2 separate regions of the Homo sapiens genome follow, and region 2 is linked to region 1. Evidence: promoter capture Hi-C in human tissues and cell types (Jung and others, 2019). All regions are on one chromosome and are shown on one strand. The core of a region is centred on a gene start or on the middle of the fragment in contact, and the rest is flanking DNA. Distances in the headings are between cores, read along the strand shown.

Region 1 (4,244 bases), core at 1,138-3,637:
CCTTGTGAGACTGCAATGCAACCAGCTCCTGGAGCACAGTGGGACTGATGTACATTCCTAACAAGAACCTCAGGCTCAATACAGTCAATAATTAACCTAAAGGAATCAGCTTCACAAAGAGCCAGGGTTTGACCAACTTCTCAGAAAGATCAGCCACTGCTGCACATGGCAAAGCCCCAACCTACTCTACCAGGCCCAGCAGAGCACAGGAGGTGAAATGCTTCCTGCTAGGCGATGCTGACCTCGACCTAGCCACCTGACATGCCACCACCTGTCTGCTTTGGGCAGGGTAGGAAAGGCTTCCAGTTAAAGTACAAAACACTTTTCAACCAAGCTATGCAATATCCTAAGTGATCCACCTTAAGTGGAGAAAGCCTCCCTCCAACCAGGCCACCCAAGAAATAAGGGACTGGTCGCTAGAAATAACAGAAGATCCTAAGGATGTGAGCTGGTGAGTCAGTCCAGGTAGGTGCTTGTTTACTTTGCTCTTCCAATATAAGAAAGTGGTGTGAAAATTTTCACTGATGATTAAAGCTCACACACATCCCCAAGAGATAAAACGAATGCCCCTATGGAGAGGGTTCCCTTTCAGAACCTAACCACTGGCTGGTATTCAAAGTGGTTTGGATTTCATCAAAATAACCACAGCACCCCTCCTGGCCTGAGAAGTTCCCAGAATCTGAGGCAGGGGAGAAAAAGTGCACAGCCTGGGCCAGCATCTCACCTTTGAACTAGTGGTGATTTGATGACACTCGTCACCACTCTACTGGTGTTTCCAAGAAACACTGGATTTGAGGGTTACGGCAAAAAGCCACCACTATCTCTGCTGTGTAGTCTCCTAGCCAAGGACGAAAATGCAAAGGGAGAGGACAGGCCTCTCATCCACAGAGGCGTCACAGTCACGGTATGGGGCTGCAGCACGCACTGCCACCCCAGACACAGGCATCACAACGATTCTGCAGAAAAGCTGGGGCTTAGCGGCCCCATCACTCAATCAGCCGAGCATTCGAAACCAGGTCTGCCAGGCAGCAAAGGCTAAATGGTATTTTAAAAAGGTGTCGCTTCTGAGTGTATGTGTTCAAGGAATCTCTAGGTAAAATACAAGCATAGCTTCCATGTAGAAGGTAAGCTTCATTAAAGGATAAATAATTAAAACGTGCTAAATTGAGCCTTACATATGAACCATCAAAATCAACTGTAAACAGTGAAATCTACAACAACAAAGAGGTACTGTTCAAGAACATTCTCCCTACCTCTCAAATTATGCACAGACGACAACCGACCCACCGAATTTAACACGGGCGGCTCTGCGTCCTTCCCATTCGTCTTTGTTACCTTGAACACTCCTGCTAGGTAGGTACAGGCAGGTTCCATTCTGACTTTTGGACTGGGAAACTGGGGTGCAGGAGGGCCCCATGGCACGGCCACAGAACTTGAATGCAAGGCCCTTCCCTAGCGGGTCGGTCTCGAAATTAAGTCAGCTAAAACGAGAGTGTGCGGCGAGGAAGCGCTGGGCGGACGGATCAACACCCCGGGCCCCGTGCCGGACCCCACTGCCAGGCCCGAGCCCCGGAGCTCCACCGCGCAAGCGCCGGGCGCCCGGGAAGCCTCGCCCGAGCCAAGCCGAAGCTTCCGACCGAAATAATTACAGTCTTACACCAATTTGTGTTCCAACGTAAATTACTAAGTAAGTCGAACGGAGGCTAACTCCACTCACAAAGCCCAGAGGCCCACATGGCAATTTTTCTAAGCCCTGCGCAGACCGCAGCGCCCCGGTGGGTCCCGGGCGGGCCGGACGCGCCTCCCAAGGGCGCGGGTCCGAGGCGCAAGGCGAGCTGGAGACCCCGAAAACCAGGGCCACTCGGGGAGTGTCAGGAAGCACGACTGGGCGCCTTAGGACGTCCGGGCAGACGCGGCCCCCGAGGAGCCCCAGAGGAGCCCCAGAGGAGCCGCCTGACCCGGCCCCGACGTGCGCGATCGAGCCCGGGCTCGCCAAAGCCCCCGCGCCCCTCCGGCCCGGACAGGCCGAGTGGACATTGTCGGAGCCCCGCGGCCTCGCCGGCAATTGGTTTCCCCCCCGAAGCTGCTCCGGGGGTGAGTTCGGGAGAGAGAGGCAGGACCCCGGGACCAGAGCACCCCGACCCCGACCCCAGCCCGGGCCCCAGCCGCCCCAGCGCCCCGCCCGGGCCGCTCACCTGTCGTCGACGTGCAGGCTGGGCGAGCACTTGATGGCCAGCCAGGTCTTCCAGTGGACATGGCGCACCTTGTACACCTGCCCGAAGCCGCCCGAGCCCACCTTCTCCCAGCCCGTGAACTCGCCCGCGTCGAAGGTGCGCAGCAGCGCCAGGGCCCATGGGGTCCCGCCGTCGCCCTCCATCGCGCACGTCTAGCCAGCGCCGCGGCGGCTGCCCAGGTGCCCAGGTGCGCGCTCCGCCCTGTTACGTCACTTCCGTAGGTCGTCCCGCCCCCAGGCCCCGCCCACTTACCCGCCCCCCGGGCGCCCTCTCTGCCAGCGCCCGGTGACTGCGGACGGATGAATAGACGCTGCGGGTCACTGCGCTCTCCCCTGGGTGAGCAGAGCTTCTCACGCTTCTCACGGGTCTCGACGTGCGCATCAGCTGCCCTGCTTTTCTTTGCTTTTTTTTTTTCCTTAATTGCGGAGTCACATGCAGTTGTAAGAAATCATTCACTTTGCCTAGTTTCCCCCAGTGTTACCACTTTGCAAAACTTTGCCAAAAAAAAAAGTCCAATCTCACAACCAGGATATTGACTTTGATACAGTCACCGATCTTATTCAGTTTTGCCGTTTTACTCGTCTTCCTTTGCATGTATTAGTTTTACACAATGTAATCATCTGTGTACCTTCCCGTATCCACCCCCACCTGGCCACTCCTGTGGCGATTTTACAGCCGCACCCCGGAGCCCTGGCATCACTAATCTTTCCTCTATTTCTAAAATTGTTTTATTTCAGAAATGTTATGTTTAGATACAGGAATCATACAGCGCCTAATTTTTTGAAATTGGCTTTCTTCACTCGTTAGTCTAATTCCCTGCAGGTTCACGTCTTGCTTTTTTACACGAGTTTCCTCTCAGAAAGTAACTTTTTTTAAAAAATTACCCAACAGCAAATCTAAAGTCCATTTCAAATGCAAGAGTTCCCTCATCCTTTCCTAAATAACAGCCTCTTTTTACAGGTAGAACAGATGGTTTGAAAAGGAAAGATTTTTTTTTCACATATGGGGAAAAAAAATTCCCAGCCTTGGAAGGATATTTGGGTTAGAGGCCGAAGTGCATCACAGATCACGCACGCGTCCACACCTCAGAAAACACTCACTCATTCCTGAGACGCAACGGTGAGTGAAGGCTTATTTTTGGCCACAGGAGATTAATAATGAAGACAGGAGGGCGGAGCTAAAGGAGAGGGTATTTTAACGACATTAACTGTGTTTTTGTGTTAGTAACTCGGAAAGAGAGAGGCTGCCCCAAGTCAGCGCATTGAAAGCCGCAGACCTAGTGTCTCCAGGCTCCCCCTTCCAAACGGGCGCGGACCTTCTTTCATAGCCTGTAGCGGGGAGCCGCGTCTCCCCACTGCCTCCCCACTCCCATCCGGCCGCTCTTTGGAGGGAACTCACACATCCCAACATGACGATGCTTGCTCGGGGGGCCTCCTGGGGGGACCAGGGAGCCACTTCCTTTCCCACATACTCCGGAAATTAAAGTTGGTCTCCTTAAGGCTGGAGTGGCAAATAGTTGTTTTAAGCTTGTCACAAATGTAACTTACATTTGGACTAATGTTTTAAAAAATAATTGGAGTTTTGAATCTACGAAGATACCTTGGAAGTAAACATAGTTATTATTTTGGTGGGAAAAAAATGAATGGACTTGAAAGTGAGTCACCTGTCCTGTTCCCGGGGCTCAGCTCTAGCAAAGTACCTTTCTCCATCTACAGTCTCCGGCACACAGCTCCGCAGCTGGGGGTGACTAAGAGCCCACACCACGCAAGTAATAAAACGCTCCAATTTCATTTATTTAATCATCTGTGTGCTTCATTTGACAAATATTTATGGAGTGTCTGCTGCTAGCTCAGTGCCTGGTGCCTGGGACTGAAGACCAGAGCCCCCTGGAGACCAAAAGAGCCAGCTCCCAGCTGTGAGCAGATCGGGTCCAAAGATCACGGGCTCGGCGGCAGGAACCTGGTTTGGTATCCGGCTCCTCTGCGGACTTTGAAGTGCTTTACCGATTCA
Region 2 (4,249 bases), core at 1,314-3,813, 42 kb before region 1:
CCTCTTAGAGCCCTCCCCAGGGAGAATGAAAGCAGGGGTCAGGGCTCAGATTCAAGGGAGACTTGGAGCAGAACCCAGTGCTTGGCTGGATATGGGGAGGGCGTGAAGAGAAGGAAGGCTGCCCCAGACTCAGGGGGACACCAGGGACTCCCAAAGGGACACGGAGAGCAGAGCCCGTGGCGTGGGTTGAAGGACAGATGGTGTGTCCTACACATGCTGCCTGTTGCTTTGACACCCCCCCACTTCCCCCCGCACACACACACTCCCACTTCCGGCATCCAAGGGGCAGGCCTGGCCTGGAGGAAGGATGGATGGACGCGCGGCTCTGGAATGGCACAGTGTGGGGAGTTGGGGGGAAAAGAAGAGGCACTGAAGTAGCAGGCACACAATCAGCAGCTCGCTGAGATTTTAGGAAAGAGAAAAACAACCCCACCCCACCCCAGCTGCTCTAATAGGGTGAATTCACATTAAGACCCCAAAGTCCATAAGATAGGATCTGCCCTCAGCTTAACTGCAGGCATGGAGGCTCTGAGCCTGGGCTCTGGGTCTGACCGCCCAGGTAGGAACCTGGCCTCCGCCTTGAAGCCTCTGCTCTGAGGAAGGTGCGCGGCCTCCCCGACCCTCAGCCTCCTCATCGGAGTGCAGGGGTGAGAATTCCCACATCTGGGCCTTGCTTCGTAGGAGAGGGTGAAGAGGCAGGTTCGAAGTCTGAGGACCAGGCTCAGCTGAAAGCCTTGCTCAAGAGGCTCGGTAGGATGAGCGTGAGAAGGCTCGCGGCTCCACACCCCAAGCATACTCGCTGCCCTGTGTGGACTTCTCAGTGCTGCAGGCAGGTTGGGGTCTGTATTCGTCCGTTTTCACACTGCTGATAAAGACGTACCCAAGACTGGGTCATTTATAAAGAAAATGAGGTTTGGCTGGACGCAGCGGCTCATGCCTGTAAAACTTTCGGAGGTCAAGGCGGGAAGATCGTGTGAGGTCAGGAGTTTGAGACTAGCCTGGCCAACATAGGGAAACCCTGTCTCTACTAAAAATAATAATAATAAAAAATTAGCTAAGCATGGTGGTGGATGCCTGTAATCCCAGCTACTCTGGAGGTTGAGGCAGGAAAATCGCTTGAGCCCAGGAGGTGGAGGTTGCAGTGAGTTGAGATTGTGCCACTGCACTCTAGCCTTGGCAACAGATCAAGAGTCCATCTCAAAAAAAAAAAAAAAAAGAAAGAAAAAGAAAAGAAAAAGAAGTTTAATGGACTCACAGTTCTCCATGGCTGGGAAGGCCTCACAATCGTGGCAGAACGCGAAAGGCACTTCTTACATGGTGGCAGCAAGAGAGAGAATGAGAGCCAAGCGAAAGGGGTTTCCCCTTATCAAACCATCAGATCTCGTGAGACTTATTCACTACCACGAGAACAGTATGGGGGAAACCGCCCCCGTGATTCAATTATCTCCCACCAGGTCCCTCCCACAACACATGGGAATTATGGGAGCTACAATTCAATATGAGATTTGGGTGGGAACACAGCCAGACCCTATCAGGAGCCTTAGGGGAAAGAGACGGCTGATGCCTGCCCTGTTAGGTACCTTCTCCCCCAGTGTTTCCTCCACCTTCATGAGGATCCCCATCCTTCTCTTGCCTTGTGGGACAGTCCTGGCTGACTAATCACATTAATAGGAAAATGCTGAGTTCTCTCAGGGCAGTAAACAGACATCTTTGACCAATGGCTAACAGGACTTGAGCTGGTCCTGCCAGCCAGATGTGTGCCACACTGTCTACCCGAAAACTCGCCCAATCCTCCCAGCACTCTTCTGCAGCCAGCACTGTCCTCGCTCCATCCTGTGGAAAAGACTGAGGCTGGGAGAGGCTTGGCACTGCCAGGTTCCCGAGCCTGGCCACTGTGGAGTGGTTTTGACCAGGTCCAAATCCGTGCCCTTGTCCCTGACCCAACTCCGTGCCCTTGTCCCTGGCCCCTCGCTCCTGGCCCAGCACTCACAGTGGAGCCTGCAGCCCCTGCATGCAGGTCTGGGTCTCCTGGGATTCTGTGACCCTCATAGCACTCCCCTAAGTCCCTGGCCAGTGGTGCACCAACACGCAACAGGAGACTTGCCACTGTGAGGAGCATCCCTCCTCGTTCCCTCCCGCTGTGTGCAGCTTTGCAGGTGACAGAGCACGCTGTCTCTGTCAGGCAGGGAAGGAAACTCTCTGCTAGTGGGGTACAGTTCAACCTGGGGAATATACTTATTGAGGGAAAATCCAAATTCCAGAGAATTTAAAAATAAATTTTATTATTTTCTAATAACCAAGCATTACTAGGGAAATGCGATATAAGTAGAGATGCCAGATAAAATACAAGGCCCCCAGCTAAATGTGAATTTCAGCTAATTATATTTAAAAAAAATTTAAAGGCTGAGCGTGATGGCTCATGTCTATAATCCCAGCACTTTGGGAGGCCAAGGTGGGAGGATCACTTGAGTCCAGGAGTTTGAGACCATCTTGGGCAACATAGTGAGACCCTGTCTCTAGAAAAAAAAAAAAATATATATATATATAATATATATAAATATATATATATAAAATATATATATATCAGTATGTCCCATGCAATATTTGAAATATACCTATGCTAAAATATAATGAATATATGTAGTGAAAATTTAAATAAAATGTTAGTAAAATTGAACAGTTAAACATTGAATTAAATATCTAATGAACTACTTTTTAGTATAAGTACGTCTCATGCCATAAGTAGGACACACACTAACAATGATTTGTTGATTATGTGAAATTCACAGGTAACTGAGTGTCCTGGAGTCATTTTCGTCCTGTACTTTTATTTGGTGAATCTGGCAGGCAGCTTTCCCCGCCTGATGAAACTTGGGAGTTGCTGCCGCCCTCTGCCACAAGGTTGGCCGTGTCTTCCCCTGCCGCTCGCAGCTACACACGGTGCACGAGGCAAAGCAGCGGCCAGACGCCCTCTGAGCGTGATGGCGGGCAGGTGCCCCCACCAGAGAGCCCCAAGCCTGAGCACTATTCCTGTCCCTTCTAACTCTGCTGGGAGCCCCATCTTGCCTCCGGCGTCAGCCCCACCCCCCTCAGCTCAGCCTCAGCACCCCTGCAGCGGGGGAATCACAGCCGACTCCTTGAGGTCCCTCCCGGCAACGGTGCCCACTGCCCACTCTGCAGGGGACAGAGTGGAAGCCCCAAGAGGGACGAGAGGCTACAAGCTCTGGGGTGGGGGGTGAGGTCAGCCTGCGCTGGTCTGACCCAGTCCGACTCCTCAGGGCGGCCGGAGCCTGTGGTCGGGAGGCGTGCGGGGCTGTGCCCAGAGCAGCGGGTCGGTCTCTTTGGAGCACTTCCCTTCTGCGCGCGTCCAGCACCCCGGAATTGATTCACAGCCAGTCTGGGTCTGTTTTCTAACCAAGCGCCTTGCTCATGAGGCACGCTGGTGTCCTTTAGAAGGGACCCAAAGCTTAAAGTTGCCTTTGTCAGTTCCCTAAGAACCCACATAAAACTGGCCACGTCCAGGGCCTCTCCTGCCTCCCCGGCACGAAGCGGTGCGGAGCAGCAAGGCCAGCCTGGCCTCCGCAGGGAAAGCTCTGCCTCCAGCCTGGTCGAGGCCCTCCCCTCAGCAGAGGCAACCCTAACAGACTCCCTTTCCCAGGAGCTGACGGGCGAGTGCCTTAGAGCCCTGTTCTCAGAGCCAGGCAGGCCGCTGCGGAGGCTGTAGGGACCAAACAAAGTCAGGTCTGTGAAATGCTCGGCGCGGGGGCGCGGGGCCCGCAGGGAGTCCGGGTTCTCTACGTGTCCTCCCTCTGGCTTTCCTCATCCCTTCCCTTCCTTCCTCCTCCCTCTCTCCTTCTTTCTCCTCCTCCTCCTCTTGTTCTTCTTCTTCCTCCTTCCTGCTCCTCCTTCCTCCTCCTCTTCCTCCTCCTCCTCCTCTTTCTTCTTCCCCTTCTTCTTCTTCCTCCCTCTCCTCCTCCCCCCCCCTTCTTCTTCTTTCTCCTTCCTCGACACCACAACACAAAGCAGAATGAAATTCGTGCCATAGAGAAGTCCCGGCAAAATGCTGCCAGACCTGAAGAAATGGGGACTGCTTCCGCCTGGATGGCAGGGCTGGGGACAATTATTGGAGGAGAGAGCAGGTGGCCTGCAGGGCTGGTGAAGGGTAAGAGGGACTTGTAAGAGCAGAGGTGGACCATGGCAGCCAGGGTGCACCCTCCCCTGCCGGGGCGTCGTGGAACCTGAAGGTCAG

What was found. The method cuts DNA at HindIII sites, captures the fragments that hold promoters and counts their contacts. A contact is called where the count stands out against the background at its distance.
Region 2: a contact is called between a fragment that was not itself captured here and the fragment with the promoter of RIPK4 in region 1, in 1 of the 25 tissues and cell types used here (H1 embryonic stem cells).

Annotation. Positions count from the first base shown.
Region 1 is chr21:41,764,665-41,768,908 of GRCh38, forward strand. RIPK4 (receptor interacting serine/threonine kinase 4) reads right to left here and starts at 2,388. Exons shown (of 8, transcript NM_020639.3): 1 at 2,196-2,388. The coding sequence starts at 2,377. It overlaps LOC102724800 (a long non-coding RNA gene), which reads left to right and starts at 2,503. Exons shown (of 5, transcript XR_937745.3): 1 at 2,503-2,570; 2 at 3,195-3,353; 3 at 3,950-4,244. RefSeq lists enhancers at 1-100, 4,005-4,244. The HindIII fragment of the contact is 3,569 bases long and covers 1,380-4,244 here.
Region 2 is chr21:41,722,608-41,726,856 of GRCh38, forward strand. No RefSeq gene overlaps it. Among named protein-coding and RNA genes, the nearest start is that of LINC00112, 8.3 kb to the left of the region's middle. The HindIII fragment of the contact is 6,678 bases long and covers 1-4,249 here.